7 separate regions of the Homo sapiens genome follow, and all the other regions are linked to region 3. Evidence: promoter capture Hi-C in 16 types of primary human blood cells and fetal thymus (Javierre and others, 2016). All regions are on one chromosome and are shown on one strand. Each heading gives the region's core, a stretch centred on a gene start or on the middle of the fragment in contact. The rest is flanking DNA. Distances are from core to core; before and after follow the strand shown. Region 1 holds the start of PSMC6 (proteasome 26S subunit, ATPase 6). Region 2 overlaps ERO1A (endoplasmic reticulum oxidoreductase 1 alpha). Region 3 holds the start of PTGER2 (prostaglandin E receptor 2). Region 4 overlaps LOC105370500 (a long non-coding RNA gene). Region 5 overlaps STYX (serine/threonine/tyrosine interacting protein). Region 6 overlaps PSMC6 (proteasome 26S subunit, ATPase 6). Region 7 overlaps STYX (serine/threonine/tyrosine interacting protein).

Region 1 (3,421 bases), core at 67-2,566, 390 kb after region 3:
ATGAGCCGGGCGTGGTGGCGGGCGCCTGTAATCCCAGCTTCTCAGGAGGGTGAGGCACGACAATCGCTTGAACCCGGGAGGCAGAGGTTGCAGTGAGCCAAGATCGCACCACTACACTGCAGCCTGGGTGACAGAGTGAGACACAGACTCAAAAAAAAAAAAAAAAAAAAAAAAATCTGGCCGGGCGCAGTGCCTCACACCTGTAATCCTAGCACTTTGGGAGGCTGAGGAGGGTGGATCACCTGAAGTCAGCAGTTCGAGACCAGCATGGCCAACATGGCGAAACCCCGTCTCTACTAAAAATACAAAAATTAGCCGGTTGTGGTGGCGCACACCTGTAATGCCAGCTACTCCGGAGGCTGAGGAAGGAGAATTGCTTGAACCCGGGAGGTGGAGGTTGCAGTGAGCTGAGATCGCGTCACCGCTCCAGCCTGTGCGGCAGGAGCAAGACTCCATCTCAAAAGTAAATAAATAAATACATAAATCTGAAGGTTCTATCAGACTTCAAAGTTCCTGCCTCAGCCTACTTCAGCATCTTTATCTTGTACCCCACATCTCTACAACCCACCCCCTACTGGTCTCATTGGCCTCCTTTCTGTTCCTGGAAGTGAGTCAAGCTTTCTACCCACAACCCCCACCCCACTCCACTCCAGGACTTGCACTGTTTGTTTAGGTTTTCTTCAGTTGTTGCAAGGCTGGCTCCTTCTCATCTCAGATATCTGTTCTAGATTAATTCTTCCCACCATACTTCTCACCGTGTTTTAATTCCTTCACAGTATTTGTTAAACTCTGAAGTTTTTTTTATTATTATTTCCTATCAAATGATAAGCAGATCTACCTTTAATACCTCATTCACTGACTGAATGGATGAATAAAACTGTCTACTTCTCCAGCACGTGGAGGTCTTGGACAGTACTGTGTTATAACAAAGGCCATCTGTGTTGTGTCGACAGGCCATCGGAACTCCTTTGAGGTATTACACATTTCCTACTTCACTTCCATCTCAGTTTATTACAGAGCCTTTTATACTTCCGGGACAGCAGTGACTTAATACTGAGGCCTCTCAGGGGAAGACCGGGATAACTGAGTCCTGCTTTACCTATCTCGGCTTGCAAGAAACGGTATAGGTGGAGGCCTCTTTCAGTGTATGCCGGCGCTCTAGGTGAACCGAGACATAGAGGTGGAAGTGGAGTAGAAAGACGGGGCCAACCGGAAGGGGAGGGCTCATGGGCGAACCCACCCCTCCAGGCAGGGTTTCGCCCCTCGCCCCGCCCCTTCCCCCGCCCGGACGGCCATGGCCATTCCCGGCATCCCCTATGAGAGACGGCTTCTCATCATGGCGGACCCTAGAGATAAGGCGCTTCAGGACTACCGCAAGAAGTTGCTTGAACACAAGGAGATCGACGGCCGTCTTAAGGAGTGTGAGTGCACCTTTCTTTCCATTTAATCAAGTGCCTCGACTCGCTTCTGCCTCTGACAAAGCAGAAGCCTTTCGCCGAGCCCGGCAACCGAGCCTTAGAGATGACCAGGCCTAGGGCCAGGGACAAGGCGCTTTGTCATCCGGCCCTGAGCTTGTGGAGCAGCACTCCTTCGGGTGTAGAAATGGCCCAGTCCAGCCCGGGTGACAGAACATCGGCGGCCTTGAGGTGAAAATGAAAAAGAAGTAGAGGAGGAGTGGGGAAGTGGGCCGAGGATGTTTCCCAGGTTAGGGTGCAAGAAGGGCAGTCTTGGTGGAGTCCCGGGACTTGGAGAGGGGAAGGCGCTTGAGTCAAGTAAGCTCAAACAAGAGATGAGACTCAGGGAGTCGGCTTGTTCTTGGAGTCGAAAGACGGCCGCGGAGCTTAAGAGAGAAGTGTTCCAGTTGTCATAATAACCCATATCGTCTTGTGTTTCGTGTTGTACTGTATCAGGCATACAAATTTCCCTTACCTCCTGAGTGCTTAACTTTTTTTTCCAGTGCATTTTCATTGAAAAGCATGAGTAGTTTAATTAAATGGAGGACCATAATTACATGATTCTGTGGAGAACTGCATTTGTTGACTTTATTTAGGGTAGAATGTCAGAGAACAATCCACGTGGGTAGGTGAAGAGGTGAGGAAGGGTCTAAGTGATTATCATTCGGATTTGTAGTCGCAAATCCTAAGTGTCAGGGTGTCAATATCTTCTAAGACTATAACTTAAGATGTGCTTAAACAAGTATTGCCGATCAACAAAGTAAAAGTATGGTGCTTTCTCTGTAACATTTTGTTGTTATACATGCCACCTACTCATTACAAACAGCATTATTTCTTTTATGGTTTGAAACAGTGGATGTGAAACTTAGGTAAAGTGAAGTAGACTTACGTAAACAGTAAAGTGAGACGTAGCGACTTAAACACACTAAGATTACTGTTCAATTAAAAATGTTCAAATTGTATTATTTCAGTAAGGGAACAATTAAAAGAACTTACCAAGCAGTATGAAAAGTCTGAAAATGATCTGAAGGCCCTACAGAGTGTTGGGCAGGTAGGTGATGGAGTTTGGGGAATAGGGGGTGATGGTAATTTGCTTTTTTATTTAGCTGTTGCCAAAAAGTAATGCTTTTTATTTTCTTCCTTAGATCGTGGGTGAAGTGCTTAAACAGTTAACTGAAGAAAAATGTGAGTGATGAATTAGCTTATTAATTAGTAAAGAAACAGTCCACCTCTCTCTCACTTTTGAAATGCTTATTATTTTAATGACAATAATGCAGAGAGAGAGAGTATTTTTGAATAGACTTAAGTTTTCCTTCAACTAATGTCTCCTTGGAGGACAGAAATACAACTAAACCCTCTGTCAACGTGGGTATGTATTTTTTTACTTTCTATTTTTCAATTAGTTCTTTTATGTTTTTTCTTCTAGTCATTGTTAAAGCTACCAATGGACCAAGATATGTTGTGGGTTGTCGTCGACAGGTAATACTTTATATTTGTATAGTGCCTGATGATTGACAAAGCAGTTTCATGTAAGTTATTGTCTCTAATTCTTGAGGCAAGCAGGTGGAGCATTTATGCCCATAACTCACAAGGATGATTTGTTCAGACATAGCTAGTTATTAACAAAGCCTGAATTCAAACCATGGGCTTTGACTCCTGGCATTCCGTACTTTCTACTGTATTACATTGTCTCAGTCAGATCTGTTAATAGCCACTTAGAAATAAAAGTATTTTAGAACTGGAAAACAGACATTTTATTTTAATGTCATTTTTAAAGAGGACTTAAAAGTGTTAGATATCATCAGTTACCTGTGTTTATATTTAGACATTCAGAACTGTTACTTATGGACTGTACCATGGCCTAAGTTAATTTTGTATGAGGTCATTTAGATTAGGGTAGGGCAAGTTGAAATAATTCTAAATTTTATTTTACAGTTATCAAAGATGCCAACAAATGACCTCAAGTC
Region 2 (3,707 bases), core at 1,181-3,680, 350 kb after region 3:
AAAAAAACACCACAGTCTGACATTTTATTGGTGTAAGCACAATTACTGATCTCATACTTATATTTGACTTATAAAAAGTGAAATATATAATATTATCCCCATATTTGGGAACTCCAAAGACTTTCCCAGAACTCTCTCCATCTCTAAGACAGCATAATGTGCTCGCACATACATTGATCCCAAAACCAGTGAGTACAAAGTTTAGCACCTCAAGACTTACGTGTGAGTAACCTGAAGCATTTCTCAGATACCCAGTGATCAGCAACTGCCTCCAGCCTAATGGTTACCCCGTACAAAGCGGGCTCTTTCACTTACTAGATCTTTGACACTGAACAAATCATTTAACCTCTCTAAGTCTCAGTTTCTCTGTCTATAATACAGTGATGACTGCAACACAGGGTTATTGCAAGGACTGAAGAAGAAAATGTATATAACATGCTTACCACAATGCCTAGAATACAGTGAGTGCTCAAAAATGATACCTATTATAATTGTTCTCTGAAATCAATTTAACTGTAAAATAATTAAAGCCACAGACAAGGGTGTACAGAGCACCAAAAAGAGAATTAAGAGTTGTATATTCTTTTCTCTACACTGCCACTGTGTGATCTTGGGAAATGAAGCAAACCTCTCCAGCTCTAGGTTACCTTAACTATAAAATGAGATCCTATAATCGACTCAAGGAACATTTGTCAAGGGCCTACAATACTCCCATAAAGGTCTAAAGGAAAAATCTGTGGAAACTCACGTCTATATATTTCCCCAGAAGGAAACTGGATTAATGAATAGTCATGTTTCCTTGTACAAACACATCTTTTAACAAAGTGAATTTGATTTTTAATTTTAAATCATTATGATTTTGTTTATAAAGAGAAATCACCACATCTTATAGGAATTTTTCTAAATGAAAATGACACATACTTAAAACAGTTTTCTTCGTAGATGACATTCCATATTTTCCAAGCATCTGGTCCCTTGTAACCAGTGTAGCGCTCAGGATTAAGAAGCAAATCTACATATTCAGCTTCAGGGGACTGAATGTCTGTAAAATAAAATGTCTTATTAAACCTTTCTTATCCTCAGTTACCTTAAAAAGCTACTACACAAGACTGTATTCCATTGATTCTAACGCACCACAAATATAACAATGTGTCAGGAATTTTAAAACAACTTTTCAGGAGAAACAAAGGAAGGAGGCCGGGTGTGGTGCCTCACACCTGTAATCCCAGCACTTTGGGAGGCCAAGGTGGGCGGATCACTTGAGGTCAGGAGTTCGAATCCAGCCTGGCCAACATAGTGAAACCCTGTCTCTACTAAAAATACAAAAATTAGCCGGGCGTGGTGGTGCACGCCTGTAGTCCCAGCTACTCGAGAGGCTGCAACAGGAGAATCACTTGAACCCGGGAGGCGGAGGTTGCAGTGAGCCGAGATTGCGCCACTGTGCTCCAGCTTGGGTGACAGAGCGAGACTCCGTCTCAGAAAAGAAAGGAAGGAAAAGAGAGAGAAACACACACAGCCACATTAATTGTACACACTGGCTACAAAAACATTATGATTTAGGAATTGTAAAAATAGGAATACGTGAATTTTAGAATCAAAGAAACATGGTAATTCAATTATCATAAGCTATTCAGACAAAGAATATAACATACATTTCCCTCCACATTAACCACAGCAGTTCATCAATAACTACAGTAAATGAAGGAGTGTTAGTATTGTACACTGCGTGTTACCAAATACTTTCTTCTTAGATGACCACCAGCAGATCCAATCTGGCCAAAAGCAAAAGTTACAATGCAGCATGATTCTGTGTCAACATTATTTATAAAAGGGAAAATTGGAAGCAACCTAAACATCCAACATCACAGAACAGCCAGAGCATGGGCTCTGGAGCCAGAACACCCAGGCTAGAATCCAGACCCTGTTACTTATTTATCATTTATAATGTGTTATAACTTCAAAACAAAAAAGATGGTCGGTCCCAGGGTGGGCACGATGGTTCATGCCTGTAATCCCAGCATTCTCGGAGGCCTGGGGGCAGACTGCTTGAGCCCAGGAGTGATTCTAAAATTCACAGGCAACCTGGTGAAACACCAGGCATCAATAAAAAATACAAAAATTAGCCAGGCATCATGGCACGTGCCTGTGGTCCCAGCTACCCAGGAGGCTGAGGTGGGAAAGTCACTTGAGCCCAGGAGGTCCAGGCTGCAGTGAGCCGTGATTGCACCACGGCACTCCAGCCTGGGCAACACAGTGAGACTGTGTCTCAAAAAAAGATGGGCCATAGTCCTCCAGTGGCTTTGGGAAATTATTTGGTACTATAATAATACTTTATTCATATATAAAGCTTAACAGTATGAGCCAACAAAGAATTAAAAAGTGGACAAAAACGGTCTCAATGCAACCAAAGTCAATAACAAAAATATGAGCACAAAAGTGCTTAGAGTCCATCAAGCTCTCAACTATACCTATTTTTATTATTAAAAAAAAACCACAAAAACAAAAAAAAACCCTAAGCTTGGTTATTTTTTACTCCAATTCACAGTATATTAGAAGCATAAATTAGGGGGAAATTTGCTTCTAGAAGCAGTACAATGACGGCATCTTAAAATAGCAGAGTTCAATGCAGAAGTGGCAATTAAAATAACTAGAAAAACAAAATATAAGGACTTAAAAAACAAATTAGCATGGAATCATCTAGTTCAGGAATGGATAACTGTTCATTTCAATTAATACTAAAGGCAAGTGCCACATATAAATTATAATAAATTCATTTTTTAAACCCTGATGTTTAAAATATATAAACAGCAGGCCAGGCATGGTGGCTCACGCCTGTAATCCCAGAACTTTGGGAGGCTGAGGCGGGTGGATCACATGAAGTCAGGAGTTCGAGACCAGCCTGACCAACATGGAGAAACCCCATCTCTACTAAAAATACAAAATTAGCCGGGCATGGTGATGCATGCCTGTAATCCCAGCTACTCGGGAGGCTGAGGCAGGAGAATCGCTTGAACCCGGGAGACAGAGGTTACAGTGAGCTGAGATCACACCATTGCACTCCAGCCTGGGCAACGAGAATGAAACTCTGCCTCGGAAAAAAAATAAAAATAAAAATGAAATAAAATAAAATACATAAACAACGGTCAGTATCCAGGACTTTGAGAAAACTAACCACCAAGAAATGATTAAATTTTTAAATATTCTACCTAGAGATAAACATTTGTTGCCTCATAATTCTACTTATTATAAATACTTCATTCTTCTTCAAGCTTATAAAAAATAAATATTACTATATTATTATATTACAAATCTTATAATTATACTATAATTATAATTATAATTATACAATTATATTTGAAGTAATACTATAATTATATTAAATATTACTATAATTATATTTGTGCCAAGAATTTTTATGATGCGCTGGTTCCTATCACTGAATAGAACCTGAAGTTTTTCATAGAAAACTAGTCAAACATGTTTTGTAAAATCTAAGAAAAGACATTTAAGAGCCCATTTGGCCCTTATAGGAAAATGCCAATATCCAGCCCTAGAAGCAGAAAACATGCGTTCTGCAAAACCTATATGATATGCTGTTTTCTATCACTGAATAGAACCTGTTTTTGACAAAAGCTCAAATTTCCAATTAGGATTTTAAAAATACTTTCTATATTTCACGTACCATTTACATCCATTATTTATTCCTG
Region 3 (3,314 bases), core at 188-2,687:
AAGATCCTCTTTCCTAGGAATCCATGCCATGAGAAGTTTAGGGATTGAAGTAGTGCCTGCTGACATGTGAAAACCGGCCTGTAAACTTTGCAAGCGATCCAGTAAATTATGCTTGTTCTAGTGGGAACCACCCCCCCCAACTCCGCATTCCAATCCCCAGGCCAGAATCATCAAAGTTGGCAAAAAATATTCATGGAGAGTAAGCAGGCTGTAGCAAGATAGGCTCTTCAGCAGGCAATCTTTGCTTCCTCCCACGTTATGACTGTCTTTCTTGCCAGTTCCCTAGGCAGATCAGACCCTTCACTTCCCAGTTGGCCTCCCTTCCCCAAGTGAATGTGACTTCTTACAGAACACAATTACCTATGTTGTCTGCCAAACTGGATTTTGTTTTGTTTTGTTTTGTGTTAAATATCAGCCCATTTTCACGACTCTGCAATTATGACAATATGTGGTAGGAAACCATTACTGTCAGCTCCAGTCTGAAACTGGCCACTTACCAATACACTTTGCCAGGAACAAGTCTTTCTGGATGGATACTACGTGGTTAACAACATGTAAAGATAAACGGCTAAACAAAATATCAACATTTTCTTACAAGGCTCAGCTTAAGGACAGAACAGTGATGTGCAATGGTTTTCATGTTGTATCCACAAACACAATTCTGTATAAGACACACTCCTCTTTTTTTAATGGTTGCTTAAACAAGTGGTTATCCGTTATGCTGTTGACATAGGAAACGGTGAAATGCTAGTAACCGAATCAAAGCGGCAGTGCAACAGGCCGCTCGGTGGTGCGCATTGTGTGGTTTGGTTCCTTGGATGGACACACTTGCTTTACGCTTCATCCCAATTTTTGTCCCAACCTCTTAGTGTATCTTCCTGGGAATAGTAAAAACAAAGCAAAACATTCTGGTCTTACTTCAAGCTGCCTTTGCACTGTTATTCCCTTGTTCCGCTCATTTCACGGGATTGGGTTCTCCTAACTTCATTGTTTGGTGAGTTGCTTTGCTTTGCTCGTTGCCCCGATCTTCTGTGTATTCTGCGCAGACCCCGCAAGTGCTCCTGCACTCCCTCCCAGCCCTCTGCTGGGGCTTAACGCTTCCCAGCCGAGGTCAGACTGCCGTGCGCTTCGAGTACCGGACCCCGAGGAAGCGAGAAACGCCGCTCCCGCCGGTCGCGGGCAGCTTCAGTACACCGGCAACACGCGCGCCTCTGCCCAGTGCCGCGCCCAGCGGGTGCTCAGACTCCTTCTCTCCCTCCCCGCCGGCGCGCCCCAGGGACTCGGAACGCCCCCGCGAGTGTGACGCGTCCTGCCTCCCCTGCAGCTCGCGGACACTCGCACTTGCAAGGCCTGGCCAGCACTCTTGGGCCCGCCCCCCGACAGTGCGGGGGCGGAGACGACGGCTCCCCTAGGCTCTGGCTCCCGGCCTTGGCCGGCGCGGGTAGGCGCGGGAGCCTCGAGCGCCGCTCGGATGCAGCAGCCGAGCCGCCACTCGGCGCGCGGCGGGAGACCCAGGGCAAGCCGCCGTCGGCGCGCTGGGTGCGGGAAGGGGGCTCTGGATTTCGGTCCCTCCCCTTTTTCCTCTGAGTCTCGGAACGCTCCGGCTCTCAGACCCTCTTCCTCCCAGGTAAAGGCCGGGAGAGGAGGGCGCATCTCTTTTCCAGGCACCCCACCATGGGCAATGCCTCCAATGACTCCCAGTCTGAGGACTGCGAGACGCGACAGTGGCTTCCCCCAGGCGAAAGCCCAGCCATCAGCTCCGTCATGTTCTCGGCCGGGGTGCTGGGGAACCTCATAGCACTGGCGCTGCTGGCGCGCCGCTGGCGGGGGGACGTGGGGTGCAGCGCCGGCCGCAGGAGCTCCCTCTCCTTGTTCCACGTGCTGGTGACCGAGCTGGTGTTCACCGACCTGCTCGGGACCTGCCTCATCAGCCCAGTGGTACTGGCTTCGTACGCGCGGAACCAGACCCTGGTGGCACTGGCGCCCGAGAGCCGCGCGTGCACCTACTTCGCTTTCGCCATGACCTTCTTCAGCCTGGCCACGATGCTCATGCTCTTCGCCATGGCCCTGGAGCGCTACCTCTCGATCGGGCACCCCTACTTCTACCAGCGCCGCGTCTCGCGCTCCGGGGGCCTGGCCGTGCTGCCTGTCATCTATGCAGTCTCCCTGCTCTTCTGCTCGCTGCCGCTGCTGGACTATGGGCAGTACGTCCAGTACTGCCCCGGGACCTGGTGCTTCATCCGGCACGGGCGGACCGCTTACCTGCAGCTGTACGCCACCCTGCTGCTGCTTCTCATTGTCTCGGTGCTCGCCTGCAACTTCAGTGTCATTCTCAACCTCATCCGCATGCACCGCCGAAGCCGGAGAAGCCGCTGCGGACCTTCCCTGGGCAGTGGCCGGGGCGGCCCCGGGGCCCGCAGGAGAGGGGAAAGGGTGTCCATGGCGGAGGAGACGGACCACCTCATTCTCCTGGCTATCATGACCATCACCTTCGCCGTCTGCTCCTTGCCTTTCACGGTAAGTCACTCCCTACGTTTCCACAGCCCGGCTCTGCTCAGCCTTCTCATGCTCTCCCCTGACGCCTCCACCCTTTCCACCGCCCTACAAACTTTTTGCAACTTGTAAAAATATGTCCTAATTTGTAAAGATCTGTAGCCTTCCCCACTAGTTTCCCCTCCTCTTTAGCCCACTTCCTTATCCTGGCTTATGGGCGTTGCTAGGCTAGAGTTTCTTATACAATAATACAGACCGTCCGAAAGGGAGTCCTGGGCCTCAGCTAAGCTAGCCAATCTCCTCATCCTAGCCCTGGGCAGTGTCCCTTTCTCGCTGTTGCCTATCTTGGCTTAGTAATTGAGAAAGAGGCAGCCCCTTCCACCTTAGGATGGCTGTCACTGTTCCAGCCTGACGACCTGGAGCTGCAGTTTGCTGCCCTGTACCTCTCATCCACTGGTGCTGGTTCTCCATGCTTGCCTTCTGTTCCTGCCAGGGCAAAATGTAGTACCCAACCCATAGCATTCCAGCTGCCATTGAAAATGGTCCCAGATGAGAAGGGTCCCTGAAGCAGAAGTTTAGAGCATTTGTTATTTGTCCTAAAAGTCCAACAAACATCTAGTTTATAGGTTTCCCAATTTATATATTTGAATGTAACTCTTTGTGGCCATGAAAGTTTATAAAACCATAATGATAACTAGAGGAAATACTTGGAGGAACATCTTGCTAAGCATTTGTAATATCTTGCAAAACACGCTCTTAATGTCACTGTCAGAAATACACACAGGTGTCCTTCAGCTTACAGTTATGCACTTGATGAGCAC
Region 4 (3,565 bases), core at 605-3,104, 500 kb after region 3:
CGCTCCCGGCTAATTTTTTGTATTTTTAGTAGAGACGGGGTTTCACCGTGTTAGCCAGAATGGTCTCGATCTCCTGACCTCGTGATCTGCCTGCCTCAGCCTCCCAAAGTGCTGGGATTACAGGCGTGAGCCACCGCGCCCAGCCGACACATGTTTTGTTTCTAATATTAATCTTGGATTTGTGAGATATACCCATCCTGGTAATGGGTATATCTTTCTTACATGCTGTCAGCTTCCATTTTCTAACTGAACTTATTTAGGATTTTCAATATTAAGATTTTCAATGTTGCTATAATTGTTCCTCTAGTCTTAGATTGTAGTAATATATTGATATATTATGAGATACAGCTTGTCAAATTACACAAAAATAAGACAGAAACTTTGGAGATTGATTAAAATTACACTGAATCTATAGATCAATTTGAGAAGAATTGGCTTTAAAAAATATTGTTTTTCTATATCCTTGTTGATTTTATGTATTATGTAAGTATATATGTATTTAAGACAGGGTCTGACTCTGTCGCCCAGGCTGGAGTACAGTGGCATGATCATAGCTCACTGCAGCCTCAAACTCCTGGGTTCAACTGATCCTCCCACCTTGGCCTCCCAAAACACTGGGATTACAGGCGTGAGCCACCTGCCCAGCTGATTTTATCTTTTTGTCTGCTTGACCTATCACTAAGAAATAGATGTTAACATCTCTCATTATGATTGTGGGATTTGTCTCTAATTCCTCTCTTTCTTGGATTTGGATTATTTTTATCATATCTAGTGACGCTTTTATCTCTAGTAATGCTTTTGCCTTAAAATATTGCTTTTTTCTTATATTAATAGATCTATGCTACCTTTTTTTTGTTGAGTATTTGCCTGCTATTCTCTTCCTTACTGTTTTCAACTTTTCTATATTATTGTTTTGAGCTATACCTTTTAAGAAGACTGAAAGAATTCAGTTAAACCTTGTTTTGTTACTGTAAAACAGGTGTCCCACATAAACATTAGCAATAATGGCTTGTGATAAAACATGCTTTTTCCTTCAAAATAGTTTTCTTGTTTTATATTTAGTTTTGGAGGTTGGTACAACATAGGGAAGACAATAGAAAGTAATTGAGTATATTATTATAGAATCCAATAAAGAAAATAAAAAGTATAAGAATGGCCAGGCACGGTGGCTCATGCGTGTAATCCCAGCACTTTGGGAGGCTGAAGCGGGTGGATCACCTGAGGTTGGGGGTTCGAGACCAGCCTAACCAACATAGAGAAACCCCGTCTCTACTAAAAATACAAAATTAGCTGGGTGTGGTGGTGCATGCCTGTAATCCTAGCTACTCGGGAGGCTGAGGCAGGAGAATTGCTTGAATCTGAGAGAAAGAGGTTGCAGTGAGCTGAGATCGTGCCATTGCACTCCAGCCTGGGCAACAAGAGCAAAACTCTGTCTTAAAAAATAAATAAATAAAAAAGTGTAAGAACTTTAAAAAGATCAAGCTGTGGAAGTGACTTTAGATGAAATCAGATCTTTTTTTTATTTGCCTCTAAGCTTCGTTAGAGTGTGTCTAGAATAGCCTTTACTGTAGGGCTAGTTTAGCTTTTATTTTAAGCCCTGATCCTTCTGGGGTTTTTATTGATTGCCCTATGGCTCAGTGAGGTCTCTCTGGCTCAGTAGGATTTGAGCACCTCTTAGTCCTCTGTGCTCTGAGAATTGTTCAGTTTCTAGCCTCTGGCAATTGTTCTTTGCCCAGTGTGTGGAGTTTCACTCTATGAATATGCAGACTGGTTATTCAGCCAGAGACCTAAGAAGACCCCTGTGTCAATTTCGGGAGCTCTTTCTCTGTGTAGCTTCCTCCTCTCTGGTACTTTACCCTACAGATTCCAGCTCTCTCACATCCCACAGATCCAGTCTCTAGCTCCTTAATTTAATGACGCCATTGTGCTTTCTTTAGGTTTTTCTTCCCTGTCCTCTAAGCTCAAAGTTGTCCCTAGATAAGAAGCTGGGGCAATTGAAAGGTTCATCTTGTTTTCCCTCTCTTAAAGTTCAGTCTTTCCCTGCCTGTTGTCACAGTATGAGAAAACAGTTGTTTCATATCTTTGGTCCAGTTTTCTTGTTGTTTACCATAGGAGAGGATGTTCTGTACCAGTTACTTCATGGTCAGTAGTGGAGCTCAGCATCTTTACAATGAGGAAGCTTACAGCCCCTGTATATTTATTTAGGTCTTATTTGATCTCTCCATGTATGTCTTACGCAGCTAGTTTTAGATTTATTTCCACATCTTCATGCTTTTATGCCATTAGAAATTGTATCATTCTAAAATTTTATTTTCTACCTACTAATTGCCAGTATAAAGAAAAAAATTAATTGTGTATATTGATTTTTCTATCCAGTAACCTTGTTGATAGTGTATTATTTTGGATTATAAATATCATTTTAGAATAACGATAGCTTTGTTTCTTTATTTCCAATCCTTACATATTTTTTCTTACCATATTTCTTTTTTTTAATTTTTAATTCATTAATTTTATTTTTTCTTTTTTGAGACGGAGTCTTGCTCTGTTGTCCAGGCTGGAGTGCAGTGGCGCGATCTTCTCTCACTGCAAGCTCTGCCTCCCAGGTTCACACCATTCTCCTGCCTCAGCCTCCCGAGTAGCTGGGACTACAGGTGCCCGCCACCACGCCCGGCTAATTGTTTTTGTATTTTTAGTAGAGACGGGGTTTCACTGTTAGCCAGGATGGTTTCAATCTCCTGACCTCGTGATCCACCCGCCTTGGCCTCCCAAAGTGCTGGGATTACAGGCTTGAGCCACTGCGCCTGGCCTCCTTGCCCTATTTCATTGGGTAAGAGTCTATTTATTTCAGGCCAGGCACAATGGCTTACGCCTGTAATCGCAGCATTTTGGGAAGTGGAGGTGGGTGGATTGCTTGAGCTCAGGAGTTCAAGACCAGCCTAGGCCACATGGCAAACCTGTCTCTACAAAAAAACAAAACAAAAAAAAAATTAGCCAGGTGTGGTGGCCTGCTCCCGTAGTCCCCCCTACTTGGGAGATTGAGGTGGGAGGATTCCTTGAGCCTGGGAGATTGAGGCTGCAATGAGCCAAGAGTGTGCCCCTGTATTCCAACCTGGGTGACAGAGAAAGACCCTGTGTCAAAAGAAAAAAAAAATCTATTTCTTTTTAGCTAAGATTTTTTGAAGTCATAAATAGATACTGAATTTTATTAAATGCTTTTTTCTGTATTTATTGAGATACTTGTATGATTTTTCACTTCAATATGTTAATGTAGTGAATTACTGTTTTTTTAAAAAAGTGAAGCCAATCTGTGCTTCTAAAATAAACCCAACTTGGTTACATCATATTTTCCTTTTTTTATACATTGCTTGATTTGATTTGCTATTATTTTGCTTACGATTTTTATATATATGTTTGCGAATGAGATTGGTGGATAATTATCTTTTCTCCTTTTCTTGTAAGTTTTGCACTAACATGCTATGCTATCCCTTGAAACAATTAGGAATTATTTATTTCTTGAATATTTGATAAAATTTGCTTAGTAAGCCATCCAGGATTTCTATTTGTT
Region 5 (3,302 bases), core at 234-2,733, 450 kb after region 3:
GAATGAGTGCAGTGGTACAATCTAGGCTCACTGCAATCTCCACCTCCCGAGTTCAAGTGATTCTCCGCTTCAGCCTCCTGATTAGCTGGGATTACAGGCACATGCCACCACACCCAGCTAATTTTATATTTTTAGAAGAGATGGAATTTCACCATGTTAGCTAGGCTGGTCTCAAACTTCCGACCTCAGGTGATCTGCCCTCCTCGGCCTCCCAAAGTGTTGGGATTACAGGTGTGAGCCACCGTGCCTGGCCTAAATATTGTTTTAGAGAAGTTTGAAGGCAGACCAATTTTAAGATTCCCCCCTTAGGTGAATTGATTTGTATCAGGAGAAGGTTGTCTAGATCAGCAGTCTCCAACCTTTTTCACACCAAGGACCAGTTTCATGAAAGACAATTTTTCCACGGATGGGGTGGCGGGGGAGATGGTTTCAGGACAAAACTGTTCTATATCAGATCATCAGGCATTAGTTAAGGAGTGTGCAACCTAGATCCCTCGCATACCATAGGGAGGGATAGGTTTACCATAGGGTTTGCGCTCCTGTGAGACTCTAATGCTGCTGTTGATCTGAGAGGAGGTGGTGCTCAGATGGTAATGCTCCCTGGAGTGCCACTCACCTCCTGCTGTGTGGCCTGGTTCCTGACAGGCGATGGACCGATTCTGGGGTCTGCAGTCCAGGGGTGGGGACCCTCATCTAGATGACCATAAGATGCTTTATCAAGGTGTATCCTGGTTTTTTATGTTTTTGTTTTTTGAGGGGGTCTCGCACTGTCACCCAGGCTACAGTGCAGTGGCGCGATCATGGTTCACTGTAGCCTTGACCTCCTGGGCTCAAGTGATCTTCCCACCCTAGCTTCCTAAGTAGCTGGGACCATGGGTGCACACTATCACACCTGGCTAAGTTTTTTGTTTGTTGTTGTTTGAGACAAAGTCTCACTCTGTTGCCCAAGTTAGAGTGCAATGGGGCAATCTTGGCTCACTGCAACCTCTGCCTCCTGGGTTAAAGCGATTCTTCTGCCTCAGTCTCCCAAGTTGCCAGGATTACAGGCATGTGCCACCAAACTCAGCTAATTTTTGTATTTTTTGTAGAGAGACAGGGTTTCACCATGTAAGCCAGGCTGGTCTGGAACTGCTGACCTCAGGTGATCTGCCTGCCTCGGCCTCCCAAAGTGCTGGGATTACGACGTGAGACCACACACCTGGCTTAGTTTTTTAAATTATTTTTGGTAGAGATGGGGTTTTGCCATATTTTCCAGGTTGGTCTCAAACTCCTGGGCTCAAGCGATCCTCCCACCTTGGCCTCACAAGGTGCTGGGATTACAGGCATGAGCCACTATATCCGGCCAAGATGTATCTTGTTGATTGCTCTACATCAGTTTTTTTCTGAGTCACAGTGTGCCCTTACCACTTGCAAATTCAAGCCTTCCCTGATTTCAGGAAAGTTGTCTTCTATTGTGTATTTACCCTTTTGGTTGTTCTGTTTCTTTTTCTTTTTAGTATACCCCTTACCCCGGTATAGTTTATGTTCCCTTTTTTCTTTGTTATTTGCTATTTTCTCTGTAATTATTTGCAGCTTTGTTCTTTTTTTTTTTTCCACTTGATTTTTCTCACGTTTGTTTTCCATGTCCCATGCTGCATTGTTTCATTAAATATTTATTTGGCATTGTTTTAGTTAGGCACTGACAGTAAAGCAGAGAACAAAACAGACAATAATCCTTGACCTCACGAAACTTATTTAGTGGGAGAATCAGACAACAAACAAAATGTAGTAGGCCAGAAGTAATGAATCCAAGAAAAATAAGGCCATGTAAGGAAGGTGGGACGAGAATTGTATTTTTAGAAGGGTGGTCAGAAATGGGCTTACTGAAAAGTGATATTTGAGCAAAGACCTAAAGAGATGCACGTATTTGGGGAAAAGCATTTGAGGTAGAGGAATAAGTGTAAGTGGTTTGAGGTGGGAGCATAGTTCTTAGAAGGATACTCATTTCATCATAGGGCCAGTCCTCTCATGACCTCATCCCAACTTAATCACCTGCCAAAGTCCCCACATTAAGTGTTTGGACTTCAACATATGAATTATGAGGGGAATGCAAACATTCAATCCCATAACTGCCATATTTTCTTTGATTAATTTGTTCATAGTTTTCATCTGCTTCATGGTATAAGTTTTATGGCATTTTCTTTATGACATTTGGTTATACTCTTGCTTTTCTGTTTTTGTTTTGTTTTGTTTTGTTTTTTCTTGCAAAATCTTTGAGTAAGACCTAACTGGTTCCTTCTTGATTATTGGTCATCTTTGAACTGGAGGTATTCGTCTTAGATCAGCTATTTACCCAAGAATAAAATTGTGGGAAAGGGGCCAGAGGAGTGGTTGGGGAAGGCTGACAGCTTGAATTTTCCCAGGTTCCTTTGGTGGCATGAATCAGTGAGTAAGAAGCAGAGCTCCTTATATCACAGGTTTATTTTGTTTAAATTGATAAACACTGATTCATATTAGAATCACCTGGGGAATCCTTACCCATGCCAATGAAATCAAAATCTGTGAGAGTGGGGCCTAGGTATATAGGTTTTAAAGTGCCTCAGGTGATTCTCATGTATATCCAGGCTAGAATTGCTGATTTAGCCTTTACTTTTAGCTATCCAAGATCAACTGATGCTTGGCTACATGCAACCAAATTTCACTTCCGCCTTACCATACTTAAACAGCCTGCTGCTTGCAAAAAATGGCAGGTGTAGGTGTTCACATTTTCCTTAATATGTCCCACCTTCTCCCATAGGCCACTCATATTTCCTGACTTTGTCATACCATGCAAGGGCTTGTTGGTTTTATTTTAGGTCACCTTTTTTAGCGAGCTATGAACTGTACCTACTCTGGCCCACAGAGGAGTTATCTGCTATGCCTAGCTTAGGATGGTTCTATTTTTTTTGAAAATTTTATTGTGAAATTATAATATAGAAAATGCATAAAATGTAAATAAACATCCATGTAACTATTGCCGAAGTATGGAAACAGAATGTTTACCAGGACACCAAAAGCCTTTTTCATGCCGCTTCTCAGGCACAAATCTGTTTCTCCCTCTGTAAAGTAACCACTATCCTGACGTAGCTGGTAATCAATTCCTTTTCCCCTCATTCTTCTCATTTTCAGGGTAATGGATGTTTCCTAGTTTCATCAAATGTTTTCCTTGTTTTCAGAAAAGAGAGAAACAAAAATGCCTTTATTCTTCTATCTATAACTGGAAGCAGAGGACTATTGAGATTGCCAATTTAAGTTTTTGGTGTTTTTTGGGGTTTTTTTAAACA
Region 6 (3,421 bases), core at 328-2,827, 410 kb after region 3:
AATCTGCCCACCTCGGCCACCCAAAGTTCTGGGATAACAGGCGTGTGCCACTGCACCCGGCCTGGTTGTTTGTTTGTTTGTTTTTTAAATTGATTCCTGTTAAATGCTGACAATAGGTCAGATAAAGAGTTCTCAGAGTAGACCTTTGGATTTAACTATATGGAGGTCATTGGTAATCTTGTCAAAAGTAGCTTCTTGGGAGTGGTGGAGGTGAAAGCCTATTTCAGATGGGTTTCAGAGAGATTGGGAGGAGAGGCATTGAGTTTAGACATTTCTTTTAAGAGTTCTACAGAGGGGGCAGAAGAAGTAGAAGGGGAATGCCGATGAGGAGTTGGCAGAGTTTTCTATAAGATGGAAGAGTTTATGACCCCCCTGCCCTTTTTTTTTTTTTTTTAATAATGCTACTGGGAATGACCTAGGAGAAAGAGAAATTGGCAATGTTCTTTCCTTGAAGAGGGATTGGCCCTATATATATGTGTACTTTTATGAGACTGGAGGAAAGGCAGAGTACATAGATGCTTATGATGACAGGTTCTTAGATAGTGCAGGAACTTGTGGAAGTGTTTTTTTCTGAATGCTTCTGTTTTCTCAGTGAAGTAGAATGCACGTTCAGAATGAAGATAGGGAAGTGTTCTTAGAGATTTGAGGACAAAGGAGAAGGTATAAAGTCATTATCTATGGAAGTGAGGGATTGGACTAGGGTGCAGGCCAGTAAAACATGGCTTGTGAACCAAATTCTGCCTGCCCTGTGTTTTTGGAAACACACAAAGTTTTGTTGTAACCCAAGCATGCTCATTTATCTGTTGTCTATGGCTGCTTTCCTACTGGAATAGCTGAGTTGAATAGTTACAACAGAAACCATATGGCTTGCAAAGCATACAGTATTTACTCTCTGGCCCTTTACATAAAAAGTTTGCTGACCTCCAGACTAGGGAAATCTAGTATAATTTCCAGGCAGCCTTAAAAACTCTTTAGAAGTTAATGGTCCAGAATAATGACAAATAGCTGATTGTTGAATTTCACTATCTTCATTGCCCCTGTTAGAGAGTTTTGAGCTGGAAAGACCGAACTGAACAAAGGATGTCAATGTATAGGTTTCTTCCACAAATACTGAGCTCTTGCTAGATGCCAGATACTGTGCTAGCCTTGGGAATTCTTGCTCTCAGGAAGCTTACAATGAACTTAAACCTGATTAAAGACAATTCATGAATATATGTGTGATTTCAAATAGAGAACGACATGCCCTATATTGCCTGACCAAACGGTGCATCATCAAAGTTATTCAAACTGTAGTAGCCTGTGCTGTCTTACTTCTCTTCCTATTCTGTATCAGATCCATTGTTGCTACCCCAATCCTATAGCTCTTTGATTCATGTCTGTTATGTGGGTGGATGGAGAACTCACTTTATTACTGCTACCATAGATCTGATACTTCACCACTTGAATCTTGCACAGAAACCAGAGAAGCTAGCTAATGCATGCTGTAGCATTTAAAAATTCCATGTGATACAATTATGTATGATTACATTTCAGTTTTGCTATACTTTATATTTGGCTTGTATGATTAAAGTAAACAAAGTAAATTCCATTGTTATAATTGGTTTTGAGTGTTATAGGTTTATTCAAATCCAAGATTTGATTACAGTTTTGATAAGAGTCACAGCTTAACAGGTATCTGGAGTTCACATGTGCATAGCTATTTCACTGTATAAAAATAGATTAAGATATTTTGAGATTTTGGTGATATTTCCTGTTTTTAAAGTTTCAGGGGTGTGTCTAATTCTTCTTGGTGCTGGTTTATTTAACAGAAGTCTTAGTTTTTGGATATTAATATTGTGGAAAGTTAACAGAGCTGATGTCTAGCTGATCAAACTCAAAGTAAGCTCTTCAGTTTAAATTTTCGATGTGGGCATAAATCAAGTAAAGGTCTAATTTTTAAAACTAATTTCCAGTATTTTTTCTAAACAGATTATGAAGCAATTGTGAAGCTTTCGGATGGCTTTAATGGAGCAGATCTGAGAAATGTTTGTACTGAAGCAGGTAAGGGTTTAAAGTACAGTTTTACTATTGATTTTGATTTTTAAAATTTGCTGAAACTGTTTTGAGTTTATCTGAAAGCGGAGCATAGACTTTGCAAGGATTTGGGTTCATGCTGTTCTTTTAGGAATCGATTCCAGGAAATAGGAGAAGCAGGGCAAGTGAGATGGAAAGAGGGAAAGCTAATATGAGGGTGCACCATTGAGGTAGGTGCTGTAGGAAAGGGAGGTTAGATCTCAGAGAAGCATACAGAATGCCTTCCAGGATCACCCAGCTGAAAGTTGGGAGACTAGAACATTGATTTACCAGTACTCATCCCCCATTGGATGAGATTTGTCCTTGGTAGTGTTGACTCCTTTGCACTTCTACCTGCCTTAGGGCAGAATGTGGAAGGAGAGGCATGTAATAGAACACTGGCCCCCTAAAGTAAGTCTGAGGTGCTACAGAATTGCCTACCACACCTGTGGCTGGAATTAGAATGGGCCAGCACCAGAGGTATCTGCTGCAAAATGAATTGTGTATGTTGTCTAATACTAGTCTGTGAGCAGTGTTTTGAAAGATTGATTTATGAATTATGTGATCATGCCATTTGTGTAAAATGTAGTATTTAAATATAATTCTCTGTGGATTGTGTGATACTATTTTTTTCACTTCTACATGGTATGTAAAAATTGTGTGATGCTATTTTTATTTCCAGTACCAAGTAGCTTTAATACCCTACCTAGAATCATTTAGTTTTTGTCTTCCATACAGAATCTTTAAATAGAAAAAATAAACTTCTACAGTATAGTTACTGACTTTATAGGTTATAGATTTTCTTAAGTATTAGAATATGTGATTTCCTCTTGCTTTTCATATCATGTTTAGCCTTAGTAAATTCAACACAGTGTTTAAAGTGGCTGCTCAGGGAGGGCTTCTCAGTACAGGTATCTTCATGGGTATTGGGTATGCTGTGAGTCAGTATCTGCATCAGATATGCAGGTCAGATACTTCTGTTCACGTCTAGAAATGCTGTCAATGCAAATTAGGGTAAATCATGCTCACAGAGCGTTATCAATAAACTAAACTATTTAGAGGTAAACTGTCATATAGCTTGAACAAGTTAGAGTAATTTATGACATTCTCTTTCCAAAATGTAAACCAGACCAAATTATTATCAGAAGATTGCTTTGGTTAGATTGTAATCCAAATGCAAGCTGTGCAGTGAACCTAAAGGCTGTTGCTATCAAAATATACGCTTTTTTTCCTTACATATTCTTACAAATTTACCTTTAGTTATTGCAAATGAGCTATAACTTCTGTGTGGATTAAAATTGTAGTTCTTTTTTAACTAGGTGGGACATTCACATCTGGAAACATACTGAAATTTTTATCTTCTTTTTAG
Region 7 (3,687 bases), core at 867-3,366, 430 kb after region 3:
CTGTCTCTCATTGTAGGATTATTATTCTCTCTTTTCATTATAGATGTATACTATTTCTACCTTCTGTGTTAAAAATACTTTTCTGGGCCGGGGGCAGTAGCTCACTCCCGAAATCCCAGCACTTTGGGAGGCCGAGGCGGGCAGATCACGAGGTCAGGAGATCAAGACCATCTTGGCTAACACGGTGAAACCCCGTCTCTACTAAAAGCACACAAAAAAATTATGGCGTGGTGGTGGGTGCCTGTAGTCCCAGCTACTCGGGAGGCTGAGGCAGGAGAATGGTGTGAACCCGGGAGACGGAGCTTGCATTGAGCCGAGATCGCGCCACTGCACTCCAACCTGGATGACAGTGTAAGACTCGGTCTCAAAAAATAAAAAAATAAAAAAAATACTTTTCTGACTTAGAGAATCTGGGTGAAGGGTAAATGGAATTCCTTGTACTATTTTTGCAACTTTTCTATAATCCTAAAATTGTTTCAAAATAAAAGGTTAAAAAAATATTTTCCAGACTACTTCAGAAACCTAATTACTAATAATAATTCTGAGTTTTAAGCAACCAACTTAGAAACTTTTGGAATGCAGTCAACCCACTGACAAATGAGGACTATCTGTACTATAGTATTTTTTTAGACGGGGTCTCAGTCTGTCACCCTAGCTGGAGTGGTGGGGTGATCTCAGCTCATTGCAACCTCTGCCTCCCAGGCTCAAGCGATCTTCCCACCTCAGCCTCCTGTGTAGATGGGATTACAGGCAGGCTCCACCATGCCCAACGAATTTTTTTGTATTTTTAGTAGAGAAGGGGTTTCACCCTGTTTCCCAGGCTGGTCTCAAACTCCTGAGCTCAAGCAATCTGCCTGCCTCGGCATCCCAAAGTGCTGGGATTACAGACATGAGCCACAGAGCCTGGCCTTTTAGTCTATTTCGATTCTTCATTTCAATTCACTATACTTTTTTTCTAAGTTTTAAAATATTTTTTATCTTTTACCATTGACATTTTGTGTTGTTTTACAGCTTCTTTATATTGGTCTGCATTCCAAAGACAAAATGAAGTCTCTTATGTTTTGTGATATGTGTTAAAATAATTGAACTAGACAAGAATGTTAGGCCCAAGTGAGATGAAGGAAAGGCTCTTTGATAAGCATTTGGCATTTTAGATCAGAGATGGCAAGTACGTATGACATAGCATTCTTCTTTTATCCATTTCAGATATTATTTGTTGATCAGACACTCTTCTTCCTGTCTTGGACCACACAGTGTTTTAGGTATCTGCTGTCAGTTGATTAGAGTTGGCATGAGAAACAAAAAAAATCTATTGGCATCTCTGACTTAGAAGATCAGTTTTGGGAGAATCTTCTGGAATATCTATTCTATTCTTAAGTTTAATGAGTAATTTCATCCATTTTATGAAGTAACATAACAATTCTGGAAGCCTAGTTATTTAAAGAATGCTTTAAGCTTTGTTTCTTGTCACTTCAATTTTCAGATGTTTGTGAAACCAAGTCTGCTATTTTAATAAAATGTTCTTAAAGTATAATGTAACTTTAAAAAATCTACATACTTGTGTGTCACATCTTTAGCCTTTAATTGGGTGACTTTTTAAATGTTATCTACTTTTATTCTTATGTTTTCCTTCCCAGGAGTGGACCTACCCTATGAGACGAGAGATGCAGGTATGGCAACCTTTTCTTTGTTCAAACCAACCCATGTTATTATCATAATAAGAACCTTAGTTTATAGGATTTGAGACCTGCTGATTTCATGATCTGTAGGTTCATCATTATGTATTTTAAATAATTATTTTAAATATTTAAGGTTAATCTTGGATCTTAAAACGATGGGAAATTAGAAAGAGGAACGTAGTAATAGGTGTATGTGCTTAATGAGTCACTTTCTCTTGGTTTTTTTTTTGTTTTTTTTTTTTTTGAAACAGAGTTTCGCTCTTGTTGCCCAGGCTAGAGTGCAATGGCACGATCTCGGCTCACCGCAACGTCCACCTCCCGGGTTCAAGTGATTCTCCTGCCTCAGCCTCCCGAGTAGCTGGGATTACAGGCATGCGCCACCACACCCAGCTAATTTTGTATTTTTAGTAGAGACAGGGTTTCTCCTTGTTCAGGCTGGTCTCACACTCCTGACCTCAGGTGATCCAGTGACCTCAGGTGATCCACCCACCTTGGCCTCCCAAAGTGCTGGGATTACAGGCATGAGCCACCGTGCCTGGCCAATGAGTCACTTTCTTTTTCCTCACGTGAAAAATTGGATACTTTCTTTGTATTCCTTTTGAAAGCAGTTTGCTTTCTCTGTTTGTCTAGATAAGTTAGGGAGAGTTGTCTGTACAGCAAATAAGCATTGTTCATTTTGTGTCCGATTTTTAATCAACTTCCACAATTAAGTCTTCTAGAAGATCAAATTGAATACTTTCAGTTTGGAATGAATTAAACGATAGCTAACCCTCATAGCAGTTCATTTTCTTTTGCATTTCATACCATTTACCGTCAAGTCTGTTTGCCCCAGGATTAAGCAGTATCTTGTTCCTGGGAATCCCATGACTTCTAAAAATCTGTTACTTTTCTCTCTTAATGAAAGTTCACTTTGAAAAAATAGGTGAGTACCTATGAGGCATTTTACTTGGTGTTAGGAGGAATGCAAAGATGACTAAATGTAATTTCTGCCCACAAAAGCCTGGTGGAAGAAATCAGTTTTATATACAAATAATTATGACTTATAGAACTGAACTATAAAGTTACTGTTAGTATCTAGGGTATGATATATCCAGACTGAAAGCTTTCTGTATTGAATTTACATAAAATAAATTTGAATTCAACATCTGGAAGGTACATACTTGTTGAAATTTTGTCAACTGGCAAATATTTGAATTTGGAATTTTTATGTTACAGTAATAATTTGCTTCTATTAACTATAGATAATAGTTTTAGGTCAGGCACAGGAGTTCATGTCTGTAATTCCAGCCGTTTGGGAGGCTGAGGCAGAAGGATCACTAGAGCCCAGGAGTTCCTTATCAGCCTGGGCAACATAGTGAGACTTCGTCTCTATTTTTTAAAGAAAAAAAAAAAGATTAAAAAAATAGATAATAGTTCCAATCTTGTTGTATCTTGTGCTGCTTTTGATTTGGCCAAATAAGGTTTGTCTTATTTATATAGCCTTATAGATTTAAATTGCTGATGGTAAATACCTCAAATTTTTTTTTTTCTAGGAAATTTTACCTGGATTGTTCTTAGGCCCATATTCATCTGCTATGAAAAGCAAGGTATGAACTTTGTTAGATTCATCAAGAGAGACTTTTATTAACCAACTTTTCTTGGGTAAGTTTTTTAGTAATAAAGAGTTTTATTTTAGGGAGCATCCACAAATACTGTCTGTTAACAGTAATTGTCACTCTGGAGTACCTTCCTCTTTCCCTATTTTACTAGACCAGTAGTTCTCAAGTGTTTCACCACAAATCAGAGTTTTTGTTTTTTCCTCATGAAATTTGTATGTTTGAAAGATTTACCAAATAACTGACCTTTAATAACTTATTTACTCTCTAAAACACTAGACATCTGTAATTGCTAATCATAGCTTCAGAACAATATGAGATGTAGTTAAAGCCCAAAATAAGGAATTTCAATGTTTAGTTAAACCTTCCTTATCAAGGGTAAGACTGTGTGTGTTAATTGAAAGTCATTCACC

Evidence for each region. Contacts are between HindIII fragments. The CHiCAGO score rates a contact against its expected background, and 5 or more counts as called.
Region 1: the fragment with the promoter of PSMC6 here is called in contact with the fragment with the promoter of PTGER2 in region 3 in 12 of 17 cell types (megakaryocytes, monocytes, naive CD8 T cells and 9 more); the score reaches 11.0 in megakaryocytes.
Region 2: a contact is called between a fragment that was not itself captured here and the fragment with the promoter of PTGER2 in region 3, in 2 of 17 cell types (megakaryocytes and total CD8 T cells). The highest score is 6.1, in megakaryocytes.
Region 4: a contact is called between a fragment that was not itself captured here and the fragment with the promoter of PTGER2 in region 3, in 1 of 17 cell types (megakaryocytes). The highest score is 5.7, in megakaryocytes.
Region 5: a contact is called between a fragment that was not itself captured here and the fragment with the promoter of PTGER2 in region 3, in 1 of 17 cell types (megakaryocytes). The highest score is 5.5, in megakaryocytes.
Region 6: a fragment that was not itself captured here is called in contact with the fragment with the promoter of PTGER2 in region 3 in 1 of 17 cell types (megakaryocytes); the score reaches 7.2 in megakaryocytes.
Region 7: a fragment that was not itself captured here is called in contact with the fragment with the promoter of PTGER2 in region 3 in 3 of 17 cell types (megakaryocytes, monocytes and total B cells); the score reaches 5.7 in megakaryocytes.

What each region holds. Positions count from the first base shown.
Region 1 is chr14:52,705,884-52,709,304 of GRCh38, forward strand. It overlaps PSMC6 (proteasome 26S subunit, ATPase 6), which reads left to right and starts at 1,317. Exons shown (of 14, transcript NM_002806.5): 1 at 1,317-1,421; 2 at 2,426-2,505; 3 at 2,600-2,639; 4 at 2,881-2,933. The coding sequence starts at 1,337. RefSeq lists enhancers at 868-977, 998-1,057, 1,358-1,607, 1,628-1,677. The HindIII fragment of the contact is 4,351 bases long and covers 616-3,421 here.
Region 2 is chr14:52,665,454-52,669,160 of GRCh38, forward strand. ERO1A (endoplasmic reticulum oxidoreductase 1 alpha) reads right to left here. Exons shown (of 16, transcript NM_014584.3): 7 at 922-1,042. Among named protein-coding and RNA genes, the nearest start is that of ERO1A, 28 kb to the right of the region's middle. The HindIII fragment of the contact is 170 bases long and covers 2,346-2,515 here.
Region 3 is chr14:52,312,875-52,316,188 of GRCh38, forward strand. PTGER2 (prostaglandin E receptor 2) reads left to right here and starts at 1,438. Exons shown (of 2, transcript NM_000956.4): 1 at 1,438-2,517. The coding sequence starts at 1,675. RefSeq lists enhancers at 668-1,228, 1,229-1,788, 2,023-2,172, 2,193-2,332 and a silencer at 1,393-1,502. The HindIII fragment of the contact is 17,361 bases long and covers 1-3,314 here.
Region 4 is chr14:52,813,442-52,817,006 of GRCh38, forward strand. All of the region lies in intron 1 of LOC105370500 (a long non-coding RNA gene), which reads left to right. Among named protein-coding and RNA genes, the nearest start is that of GNPNAT1, 24 kb to the left of the region's middle. The HindIII fragment of the contact is 645 bases long and covers 1,533-2,177 here.
Region 5 is chr14:52,765,264-52,768,565 of GRCh38, forward strand. All of the region lies in intron 9 of STYX (serine/threonine/tyrosine interacting protein), which reads left to right. Among named protein-coding and RNA genes, the nearest start is that of GNPNAT1, 25 kb to the right of the region's middle. The HindIII fragment of the contact is 4,705 bases long and covers 1-3,302 here.
Region 6 is chr14:52,721,997-52,725,417 of GRCh38, forward strand. It overlaps PSMC6 (proteasome 26S subunit, ATPase 6), which reads left to right. Exons shown (of 14, transcript NM_002806.5): 13 at 1,969-2,040. Among named protein-coding and RNA genes, the nearest start is that of STYX, 6.5 kb to the right of the region's middle. The HindIII fragment of the contact is 818 bases long and covers 1,169-1,986 here.
Region 7 is chr14:52,743,215-52,746,901 of GRCh38, forward strand. STYX (serine/threonine/tyrosine interacting protein) reads left to right here. Exons shown (of 11, transcript NM_145251.4): 2 at 1,638-1,670; 3 at 3,212-3,265. Among named protein-coding and RNA genes, the nearest start is that of STYX, 15 kb to the left of the region's middle. The HindIII fragment of the contact is 1,326 bases long and covers 1,454-2,779 here.